3 separate regions of the Homo sapiens genome follow, and all the other regions are linked to region 3. Evidence: promoter capture Hi-C in human tissues and cell types (Jung and others, 2019). All regions are on one chromosome and are shown on one strand. The core of a region is centred on a gene start or on the middle of the fragment in contact, and the rest is flanking DNA. Distances in the headings are between cores, read along the strand shown.

Evidence for each region. Contacts are between HindIII fragments. The study calls those that stand out against the background at their distance.
Region 1: a fragment that was not itself captured here is called in contact with the fragment with the promoter of HSD3B1 in region 3 in 2 of the 25 tissues and cell types used here (pancreas and thymus).
Region 2: a contact is called between a fragment that was not itself captured here and the fragment with the promoter of HSD3B1 in region 3, in 2 of the 25 tissues and cell types used here (bladder and pancreas).

Annotation. Positions count from the first base shown.
Region 1 is chr1:119,467,527-119,471,591 of GRCh38, reverse strand. It overlaps the pseudogene HSD3BP1. Among named protein-coding and RNA genes, the nearest start is that of HSD3B1, 38 kb to the left of the region's middle. The HindIII fragment of the contact is 4,265 bases long and covers 1-3,540 here.
Region 2 is chr1:119,550,847-119,554,882 of GRCh38, reverse strand. No RefSeq gene overlaps it. Among named protein-coding and RNA genes, the nearest start is that of HSD3B1, 46 kb to the right of the region's middle. The HindIII fragment of the contact is 6,778 bases long and covers 1-4,036 here.
Region 3 is chr1:119,505,116-119,509,184 of GRCh38, reverse strand. HSD3B1 (hydroxy-delta-5-steroid dehydrogenase, 3 beta- and steroid delta-isomerase 1) reads right to left here and starts at 1,975. Exons shown (of 4, transcript NM_000862.3): 1 at 1,923-1,975; 2 at 1,564-1,793. The coding sequence starts at 1,708. RefSeq lists an enhancer at 1,848-1,871 and promoters at 1,794-2,467, 1,794-4,069. The HindIII fragment of the contact is 2,119 bases long and covers 250-2,368 here.

The DNA of each region.
Region 1 (4,065 bases), core at 159-2,658, 37 kb after region 3:
TCGGAGTTTAGCTGAATTTGATTGGAGCCACAGTAGAAAGAGCATCCACAGCCTTTGGAGTCACACAGGGGTGAGTTTAAAGTCTCATTCTCCTACTTACTTACTTACCTGGGGGGCCTTGGACAAGTTACTTGCCATCTCTCAGCCCTAGTCTTCTCATGTAAAAAACTGAAGGTAGCAGCTTTGAACTCCCCCAGTTGGTAGTGATTAGCAAAGACACTTGGCCCAGAGCATAGCAGGTGTTCAGCGGAGGGACTTCTCTTCCTTCATTGTTTATCTTTCTGATCCTTGTTTGCTCCACCTTGCTCCATCTCCTCCTCAGGCTACTGTACCTTTCACGTTGAAGTTCATGATAGACTCTCTGTGAGTGACACCGAAGATGTCAATGATAGAGGCGGTGTGGATGACTACCGAGATGTCCTGGCAGGCTCTCTTCAGGCATGACTGATCCAGAATGTCTCCTTCTAGCACTGTCATCTTGGTCTTGTTCTGGAGCTCTGCAAGAACATAGGTCAGGTCATTGGAAGGGTTTCCGAATCTGGCTTGGAAGTTTCCTGATAAAGATGATGTTACATAGGTGTTCGAGGATGGTTAGAGTTGGGTTGTTAGAGTGGAGGATGTACACTCCATGGAAGGAACAATTAAACAAAGGCACAGAAGTCAGCACGTTTAGCAATTTTTTGGGAAAGAGCAAACATCTGTTTCTACCCCATCTCATTTCAGAAAAGTAATCTGAGCAATGAGCTGTCAGGTGTGCCTGGAATATAAGCACGGCTAGGGTCATGGGAGACTCACCAAAATTTTTAAGGAGAGTAGGGTGATTGTGGAGAGTTGGGTATAAGAGGGAAAAGTTTGAATTTAATTCTGTAGGTAATGCAGAATTGTGATTTTCGGTCTCCAGCACCATGTCACAGAAAACCCCTTATTTATATTTGGAACAAGTAGAGAAACAGGCCAGGGGTGGTGGCTCACACCTGTGATTCTAGCAATTTGGGAGACTGAGGCAGGTGGATCGCTTGCATCCAGGAGGTTGAGACCAGCCTGGACAACTTGGTGAAACCCCGTCTCTACCAAAAATACACAAATTAGCCAGACATAGTGGTGAATGCCTACACTCCCAGCTAATAAGAAGCCTGAGGTAGGAGGATGGATGGGTCCCAGGAGGTGAAGGTGGCAGTGAGCAGAGATCATGCCTCTGGACTCCAGCCTGGGTGGCACAGCAAAATCCTGTTTCAAAAAGAAAAAGAAAAACAGAAGCAGAATTGTAGTGTAGGAAGTTAACCTTGCCTCAAGGATATAAAATGGACTGGTATAGGGGATATGAGAAAGCCAGGGGATCAAGAGATTAATCAGAATGTCTGTGCCAAAGTTTAGATGAGGACTGGAAGCGGGGTCCAGCAGTGGAAGCAGAGGAGGAGAGAGATACACCAGGTTGGAATTTCAGACCTCACCTTGAAGGTCCTGGTACCTGTTGGATCTTGGCTGAGAGGAAAAGGAGAAGATAAAATCACCCCTATGGTTTCCTGCTTGAGCAACTGGGAGGAGAGTGGAGCCATTACTAGCGAATTGCAGAAGAGTTTAAATAATGAATTTTTTTGAAAATTCTTATTGGATATTATCAAAGGAGGTACAAATGCTGAAAATGAGTCAGTCACCAATGAACTAACATCCAGCTGTGTAGCCCAGGGCAGCAGTTACAACATCAATGTCTTCAGGCTCCTCTGAAATCCACAGGTAGTGATGCTGCCAGTAAAGTTGTCACCTGGAATTAGCCCACAAAATGAACACCATGCTACATGGAGCTCAGATAAATACTTTACACTCATTTGTGCTTTATAATCTGCATACAGCTCACAGCTTGCTTATTTCCTTTTACAGCTGTCTCATGAGGTAGGTGTTCTGAATCCCATTTTATTGGTGAAGAAACTGGGGCTCAGAGAGGTTAAGGGACAGATTAAAGGTCACGTTTCTAGTGAAGGCTCAAAGTTGCCCACCCCACCTCCAAGTCTTGTACCCTGTACACCAGGTGCAGGAATAGCTGTTTACAATCAACTTTTCTGAGAAAGAGTAAGAATAAGTCAGTTTAACTGAAATTGGCAACAAAGGCCAAAGAACAGTGAGAGTAAAATTCAGAGTGAAAAATTCAAAGCAGGAGAAATTCCTTCCTGGGATACAGGTGGGACCATTTGCTCTCCTGATGCCTCTGCCTTGTTTTGTCTACTCCCAGCCCCTTCCCACTGTCAGGCAACTCCAAGGAGGCCCTGGAATGGGGGAGGCAGGGAAGAGGCTGCTGGGGAGGAGGTGGGTGACAGCCTGAGAGTGGAATTTTCTCTGGTAGTATTTCCACCTCTGTACTTCCTGCTCCCTTCATCTGCTTCCCATTTGCTGCCAACTTCAGACTGGCTCAAAGGAATTGTCATTTCAAAGCTGAAGAAGTCTAAAGCCAAGAGAAAATGACTCTTCCGCAGTGAGTTCACAGGGAACTAGAGAGACCAGGAAAGGGGACTTTGTGGATGGAGCCATTGCTCCCTCCCTCCTCAAGCTGCTAGACGAACTACTGCTTAAGAGCACAGATGCTGCACTAGACCACATGGGTTCAAATCCAACTTTGCCATATTCTAACTGTGGAACATTGGACAAGTTCATTAATCTCTCTCTGACTGTTTCCTCATCTGTAAGAAAGGAGGCTAATAACATTAACAATCTCATAGGGCTGTTATGAGCAGCAAATGAGTGGGCACATGCAAACCATGTAGCACAGTGCCTGGCACAGAAAAAACACTGAAAGGATTCTCTGTTTTTATCTTCATACAGTCTTTTGCCCATCCATTATACCCCTGCATTTTCACCACAGGGGAATTGTTCCTCTAGGCTAAGCATTGCTTTTTCTTTGTATTACGTGTTAGAGTGCAAATATTGGTGAGACATAATGATTACAATCATTTAAAATTCATGAAGTGTTAATATTTGTTTATCAAAGACACCATTAGAACAGAGGGTGGAGGAAATCAGAAGAGGTCAGAGAAGAGTGAAAGAAGAGTAGAGTGCTGGGTGTGGTCCCTGAGTGCTGTCAAGTGGGGACTCTTCTGTGGGCAGCACATGACCCTCTGCACAATCAGAGCCCACATGTAGATACACAGTCCTCCCAATCCCATGGGATGGGGAGGAGGACAGGGAATTGGACACACAGGGAGGCAAAAGGAGAGACTGAAGACCCATTTTGCCAAGTGTCAGCCCCAGGGCCAAGTGAAGCCTCTGGATGAAGCTTTGGTCTGAGCTCTGCTACACATTAATCAGATGGCCTTGGCAAATCGCTTTGTTTCTGGACCTTGATGCGTTCATTGTCCACTTGGATATCACCCCTTTTCTACCACCTTCCTCATAGTGTTATTTGCACAAGGAGTTGCTACAACAAATTCTGCAATTGCAGGGTGGGGGTGGGGGGGGGGCGGGTATTGAGCAACAGAGACAAATGGTTTTTAAAAAAAAGCCATATGTGAGAAATGAAAATGAGGCATGCCTGGCCTTATACTGCCTCTTACTCTGTCTCTGCTCTGTGCTGTGTGCTTGTGCACACTGTCTCCCTCTCACTGCTGCTCTCTCTCTCACTCTTTCTCATTCGTTCTCCATCTTTCTCATTTTCTCTCTCTGATTTTTCTCTCCCCTTCATTTTCTCTCTCTTTCTCACTCTCTGACATGCACACACAGGCACATATGCACACACATACACACACTTAAACACTCATCTTTACCTCCGCTTCCTTTTATTTTACCTCCACTAAAGATGCTGAGGATGCTATGAAACAAAACAAAGCTTGGGGCAGTCTAGACAGGCAGGGACCCACTGGTGAGGTCTCCAGGTAAATGCTGTCCTTTGTGAATGATGTAAAGCAATTGCCAAGACAAAAAGCTTCAGAGCATAAAAGACTTGTAGACAAGAATGAGAACTGATGTGGGATTTTCTAGATGAAAAGAGGCCTGGAGGCTGAGGTGGCTGCCTCTCAAGTTCTGGGTCAGGGCCAGAATCCAGTCTCTGGACAGCCTGTCCAGTATCTTTCACACTAT
Region 2 (4,036 bases), core at 1,469-3,968, 45 kb before region 3:
GGACCCCCTTTCTTTCTTGGGGATTACAGTAAGTATAATACATAAGGCTCAAATCCTCTCCTCCCCCAGAATTATGGAGGCAAAGGGCAGTGCAAGGTGCATCAGGCTTTGTCTGCTCCTGGCAGGCCACCTTTCACACAACTACTCCAAATAGGGAAGACAATATCATAAGTAAGAGCCAGGAAAAGTGCCTGTCTTGGCTGTCCATCAGATGACAATGGAATAGGTGTGGAAGGCTGCTGCTGGCCTTCACTGTCTTCACCACTCACAGTCAGCCTTCTTCTGCTTCTCTCAGATCTTTATTCCCCCAACTCAGCTCACTTAACAAAGCAAAACCCCAGGCATGACTTGTTTTCTCAGCTGCCCTTGGCAATCACATAATTTCCATCCTCTCTGCCCCTGGTGGGAGGGGAGGAGCACACTTGGCCAGTCTCCAGCATGAATTGCCTAGTGTTTGCTCCTCTGTCTCCCTATCACAGCTGCAAGTACCCTGTAGATAGCAGTTTTCTGCTGCCAGACTGTGGTTTTAAGGTCATTTCTGCTAATGCAAAGCACATTCCAATGGGTTTCAATTTCCAGCTGCTCCTGTGAGATCCAGGCCACTTTTCTCAGTGCTCTCTGCATTCAGCCAGTGCCCTGCCTTATTCTAGCAGCCAGGAATGTTCAGCTTTGGAAGCCAGTGAGGTGGGTGGCAAGTTGTTCCATATACCACGTTTCCCTCTGTTTAAGAAGTTTGAAAATGGTATCAGTGTATGTGCGGTGTTCAAGCTGGCATTCTCACGAACATATTTGAAGGATGTTCAACACAAGTAAAGCAACTGACAGACTCCTGTTCATGGAGACTAGGGATTCACTGGAAGCAGTTCCATGCAGTCTTTTTATTCACTGAAGACACTCCACTGAGATGCTTTTCTGAAAGCATCAAGGGCTGAGGTAGGGAGTGGTTCTGCCTGGGTGTTCTGATACCATCTGTGTATGGCTGGCCTTCCCCAGGCCCCAAGACTGTGACTCATTAAGAGCAGAGACTCTGGGAAGTTCACCCCTCAGCTGAGTAGACATGTTCCAGGCATAGTGCTCAATGCTGGGGAGACAGATATGAGAGAGGTAGAGATGCTTACACATTCCAACACCATTTAAGGGTGAAGGTGAAGGCTGATTTTGTTTCCTGCCTGCCCAACCTGCTTGGGGTGAATTATTTTGCCAACTGTATGTATGACTTTAAGGATTTGGCCCCTGGGGCTGCAGGTGGTGAGAGGTGGACAGGGTGAACTTCATGTCAAGGCTTCACATGTTATGCTAGGGCAAGACGGTACATTCAACAAAGGCTCAGTGTTAAGCAGATTCTCTGCCAAGGACTTTGCAACTATAAGTCAGGGTTCCCACCACTGCTGCAAATTAGGCAATGTCCACTGTACCTGGCTTTGTTGGGTGAGGGAAGGAACAGTGTGTAACCTTGGAAAAGCTAATTCACTTTGTCAAGGGGCTGGAAAAGGATCTGGCTAGACAGGCCTCTTGTCAAGGGCAGCATTAGCTAATGTCTGAAATGAGGGTCACCTCAAGGTTTCACCTGAAGTAGCTCTGCCGATTTCTGTGTTGAAGTTAATAGAGTTGGTAGAAATCACAGACATGACTTCATAGCCTGAGATTCACTGGACTGACACAGCCACTGCTGAGTGTTGCTGCAGCCTAGACCAAGCCCTATAGGTATTCTTGATCTTGCTCTCATCTGTGCAGTGGAAAGATGCAGGTATGAGGTGTGGGGAAATCAAACCAAATGACAAACACGAAGGCTCTTGTAAGATTCAGGGGCTTGTGTGAATGTTAGGAAGCAAGGTGGTTACCAGGTGGTTGTGCTCAGTGCTGCAGAGAAGGGGCTGCTGAGGGGTGTCCTAAAGTCTTGTGTCATAGCTCCTGGGAGCCTAGAAGGAGGAGAGAGGCAGTTGCTGTGCATGTGGCCTGTGTCCTCTGGGATTTCCAGCTCCTGGGGCAGGGTGATGAGGAAGTGAGAAGGCATGGCCTCCCTTTCCTGAGAACAGGAAGAAAGAAGGAACTAGTTCTGCCTCTCCTTTGAGGGTGTGCTGTGCGTGGAGTGTGCAGGGCAGAGCTTTGGCATTAACTGGCAGTGGACTTGAGCAAGGCATGACTTTTCTGGGTTTCTGATTCCTCTTCAGTAGGCACTATCTCTATTGGCTCTGCCCACTTTTGTGTCTAGTGATTTTCTAAGAATTTTAAAACCTACTTGGGAAACATCCACATTTTAATGTAAAGACAAAAGTCCTTATTTAAGTCATCACTAAGTTTTGCAGTTCAGTGGTCAGCAGATATCAGGGAGGGAGGGCATCGGCCACACTTTTTGGCCCCACTTCTTGATCCTTGACAACCCTATGAGAGGTATGATGCCCCTTTCCCAGTGAGGTGCCAGGTGCCACTAGAGCCAGGGAAGTGCTGGGAAACCACTTTCTCAAGCGCCTTCAGCTTCACGCAAACAAATAAGCACATGGAGGCTTGTGTTATTATGAAGTTTAGCTGCAGAAGTGTGCAGGTGTCAGAGGATGCAAATCAACTTACTTTTTTACAGCCCAATGTCACTGGCAACAGACCTTAGAAATGAGCCATAACCTTCATTTCTCAGGAAGGTAAACAGACCCAGGAAGGTGAAGAGATTTGCTTAACTTCGATGGCAAAATTGAAATGAGAACTCAAGATTTGCACCCCTCACTCTCATTTGTAGAAATATTCTGTTTCTAAAATGAAAGAATACTTGTTTCTTTTTGCCCTCCTCTCCCCCTTTCCTTAGTCCCTCTCACAGCCAGCTACTTTTATTTCTGTATCATGAAACATCTGCCTGTCTCCGTTCGTGGAGCACCCACGTTCCTCAAGCTGTTGTTCCCATGGGAGGTTGGGCTGTATGGGCCAGACAAATGGCTTAGCTAGCTGACTTCTGGTTAAACCTGCCCTCTGCCCTCTTTCAAATGTCTCCCATCCCAGTTTTTTTAAATCCCTTCATAAATATGTTGGTAGGGCAACCTTCTAGTTCTATGCCTTCACCCCCCTTTTCATCTTAAAGGTAGCAAATCCTAGGTCACTATTACAGATGGTGGTCTAGGTGAACATTGGGAAAGTCATCTTGCTTCCCAGGCCTCGGTTTCCTCATTGGTAAAATGAAATAAGGAAAGGAGCCCACAGTTAAAAGCTGGAGTAAAGGTCTCTAGATCCTTCTTTAACTTCAATTTAATAAAAATTTTAGAGATGAGGTCTTGTCTGGCCTTGAACTCCTGGATTCAAGTGATCCTCCTGCCTCAGTCTCCTAGTAGCTGGGGCTATAGGTGTGCCCCTCCATGCCTGAGGAAGCTTTCTTTAGCTCTAAAATCTGAACTCCACAAGGACATTGATCTGCCCTGGAAGAACCAGGGAGCCTTTTCCATTTACCCACCATAGGTCAGGCAACAGGTGTTTTGCCTGCTGCTGAAAGAAGTTCTCATAATCAAGACTGCCTGCATATTTTACAGGGATCAGTGCAAAATGAAATGTGGGGTCCCATGGCAGCCCCTTAAGCCAAGCACAGGGCCTGGGTGATGGCACAGGCCATGTGCCCATGGAACTGCTCTGCTCAGGGCTACACCAGGGATTTGACAGACTCCAGCTGATGCAGGAAGGAGTTAGGTCTGGGCTCATGAGAAGGGTATTCCTACCTCAGTGGCCAGGGTTCATGCTAGGATGACAATAGTCCCACAGCCCACCTCATGCCCACACCTCTGTCACCAGTATCTGTTTAGGAAGAATGGCTGACTTTGCTAGTGCTGGTTCTTCCATTTCTTGAGGAAAGAGTCCGCTGTTCAATAGGGAGCTTCAGGTTTCCAGAACAGATTACTGACTGTTTTGGAGTCTGCAACTGACCCCAGTGCCCCCTGCTTTTGGGGACAGAGTGGCCAAGCCACTTTCTTCTGTTCATCTAGCCTTCCCCCTTCACTTCCTCATAATGAACCTATTTCATGCCTCAGATCACCGACTCCATTCCCTGCTCATTAGACTTGGG
Region 3 (4,069 bases), core at 726-3,225:
TCTGTTTCTATCTCCTCATCTTTAAAAAAGGAGGATAATATTACCGATCTCATAGGGTTGTTATGAGGAGCAAATGAGTTGGCAAACCTTTGGCCAAGTGCCTGGCACAAAAAGAACACTGAATGCTTTCTCTGTTTTTATCTTCATACAGATCCCTGCCTGTCTATTATATGATCTGCATTTTTACCATAGGGGAACAATACCTCTAGGCTGAGCATTGCTTTTTTCTGGCTTCAGATGTTAAATTGCAAATATTGCTGAGACACAGGCAAGGATTATAAGCATTTCATATTTGTTTATCAAAGACAACATTAAAACAGAGGGTGGAAGAAATCGAACATTTCAAGAGGTCAGAGAAGAGCAAAAGTAGAGTGTTGGGTGTGGTCCCTGAGTGCTGTCAAGTGGGGGATTCTCTGTGGGCAGGGCAGGACCCTCTGGGCAGCCAGAGCCCACATGTAGACACACAGTCCCCCAAATCCCCTGGGTTGGGGAGGAGGACAGGGAATTGTTTTGGGGCACACCAAGGAGCAAAGGGAGAGACTGAAGATCCACTTTGCCAAGCATCAGCTCTGGGGCCAGGTGAAATAGCCTATGGATAAAGCTCTGGTCTGAGCTCTGCTACGCATCAATCAGATGGCCTTAGCATGTTGCTTTGTGATTCCGGACCTTGATGCGTTCATTGTCCTGTTGGATGTGATGCCTTTTCTACCTGCCTCTTGGGGCCATTTGTACAAGGAGTTGCCACAGAAAATTCTGCAGTCAATTTCTTTTTGATGATGAGCAACAGAGGTAAATGTTTTGTTTTTTTTTTTTTAAAAAAAAGCCATATATGCAAAATCTAAATGAGGCATGTCTGGCCTTATACTGCCTCTTACTCTGTCTCTGCTCTGTGCTGTGCACTGTGCACACACATTCTCTCACTGATGCTCTCTCTCTCACTATATATTTTTCATTATTTCTCTGTCTTTCTCATTGTCTCTCTCTCTGAGTCTCTCTCCCCGACTCTCTCTCCCCGACTCTCTCTCCCCCTTATTGTTTTCCTCTCTCTCTGTCACACACACCCACTTATACACTCATCTTTACCTTAACTTCCTTTTATTTTGCCCTCACAAAGGATACTAAGGAAGCTGCAAAACAAAACACAGCCTGGCACGTTCTAGAGAGACAATGACCCATTGGTGAGGTCTCCAGGGTAATAGTGTCCTTTATGAATGTTGTACAGCAATTGCCAAGACAAAAGCTTCAGAACATAAAAGAGTTGCAGACAAGACAAAGAACTGATGTGGGATTTTCTAGATGAGAAGAAAAGAGGCCTGGAGGCTGAGGTGGCTGCTTCTCAAGTTCTGGGTCAGGGCCAGAATCTAGTCTCTGGAAATCCCACCCAGTATCTTTCATACTATGCCATTTTATACTATTTAATATTTATTTCTTGATGACTTTGGATGTGAGATTGGCTTAGATTTGGCTACAAATTTCAATAACTTGCTAGACAAGGTCCATCTCCCCCCACATACATGCAGTGTTTAAGATGGAACCACACACCCATGACCCAAGTTTACTTACTAGAAAATTCCTCTCTCAATTCTGGTCCGAAGGCCTTGTCCAAGACCCTGATCTCCTTCAGCTCCTTCTCCTTCACCAAGAGGCGGATGATCCTCTGTCCCAGAAACCCTCCTGCTCCTGTCACAAGGCAGCTCCAGCCCGTCATGGCCATCCAAAGTAGCAGGAATCACTCACCAGGAAACAGAAGATGCTGGGGAGCAGATCTGATTCTAGGGTGACCCTGGAGAGGGCTAAAAAGAGATGTCAAATGGTTATATACTCACACAGATGCCTCATTTTCCTCCACCCCATTTTTTTTGCAAACATTCTGTGTCCCCACCACTGCAGGAGTAGCTGAAAGAAAATGAAAAATCTCTAACCATTAGTTAGATTGTTAAAAGCTGGACAGAAGAGTGGACGTACTTCTCACCTCATTTCCTGTGGCAAGTCTGAAGCTTTATGCACTGTGGCTTCTGGCCCAACCCTTATCACTTTGATCTCTGGCCATGTACTCATTGCTCTCTCCTCCTATGGGATCCTTATCTCAGAAAAATAGTGACCTTTGGGTTACATCTCTAATTCTTCCCAGGAACAGGAAGAGAAGTCCCATCCTAATGCTGCAGTGTGGCAAAGAGTCTTGGGTTTAGCCTTAACAGGACACTAGTCAGTTGATACCAGCTGTCTGGGATCCACAATCTGTGAACTTAAACTAGACCAGGAGAAATCTGCAAGTGCAATTTGAATTGTGCCCTTGTTCAGTAAATCCATCTGGAGGGAAATCCATGTAAGCCCATTATCTCCTCTCTCAGACTATCATTTGAAATGTTGCTGCTGTCTTACAAAATTTAGAAATTTGCAATGGTGACAGCTCCAATCACTTAGTTTTATGTGAGGTGACTTTCTTTCCTACCCAATATATCTGAAACCTCAATGGTCATTTGCCCCTGGAGAGCCCTGGGTTCCTAGATGAACAACATCATTGAAGGAAAGCTATCTGGTGATAACCACTTAATGATATGGCCTGTATCACAAGAGTGGGGATTTGTGGTTGTATGCCCCAATGACTCTTATCATAGGTGTTCGAACTTATCCATATTTTTGGCTGCAAAACGATTCTCAGCAAATTCTTGAACTGGACATACTGTGAATGCTTCTGAAGCCTATGCCCCAGAACTGCCCAAATATCACCGCCATAAGCTTCCCAAGACACTTTACTCAAAAAAATTGAAATATAATTTACATGCATTAAAATGCCCAGGTCTTCAGTGTTCAGTTCAGTGGAACTTGACAGTTATATATGCCCATGTAAGTAGCACCCCAAAAAAGATATAGACCATTTCCGTCACTCCAGAAAGTTGTTTTCTGCCTGTTCCCTGTTAATTCCCTGACCTTCCCCCAATCTACCTCATAGGCAACTACTTCCTGATTTTTATTCCCACAGTTCTCATTTTATTTCTATATTTCTCTAATTTTTTCTTCTAAGATCTCTGTGGTTCTGGATATATATTTAAATATAAAATTATTTTGAAATGAAGTTTTGTGCAGGGAGTACAGAAAAATTGACCGTTGATTGTCTCTGTTGTTTATTTTTCTATTTCATGATTTTCATTATTTTTATTATTGGCTTACATTTATTAATTTTGTTTTTTTTTTTCACTCGTTTTTCACATTTTTTTTTTTTTTTTTTGAGATGGAGTCTTGCTCTGTCACCCAGGCTGAAGTGCAGGGGCACCATCTCAGCTCACTGCAACCTCTGCCTCCCGGGTTCAAGCAATTCTCCCACCTCAGCCTCCGAAGTAGCTGGGATTACAGGTGCCCGCCACTGCACCGGGCTAATTTTTGTATTTTCAGTAGAGGTGGGGTTTCATCATGTTGACCAGCTGGTATCAAACTCCTGACTTTGTGATCTGCACGCCTCAGCCTCCCAAAGTGCTGGGATTACAGGCGTGAGCCACTGCACCCAGCCCCGTTTTTCAGGATCCTGATAATAAAAGCATAGAAAATTGTTTTTCTTTACTCCTTTCCTATTTCCACTATAGGCATTAAAAGTTGTAAATTTCTCTTTAAGCACTGTGTGAGCTGTACCCAACATTTTGATGTATTGGGTTATCATCATTCAGTTAATAATATTTAAAGTTTTGTCTTGTGGTTTCTTCTCTGACCCAAGTGTTATTCAGAAGTGTGTTGCTTGTTTTCTAAAAGTGAGGATTTTCTAGATATCTCATTGTTATGGATTTCTAATTAAATACTACTGTGGCCAGAGCATATGCACTGTATGATTTTGATTCTTGAATATTTAGTGAGATTTGTTTTATGGTCCAGCATATGGTCTACATTGGTGAACATGCCATAAGCACTTGAAAAGAATGCTTTCTGCAGTTGTTGAAAGTAATACTCTACAAATGATTTAGTTTGACACCCCACTCTGGGTCTTGCCCTCCTCCATGTTGTAGACATTCATCTTCTACTTTGGACCTCACTACCAATGCTTCAAAACCACTTGCCTAGGAAAGGTTGGCCTTGTGCT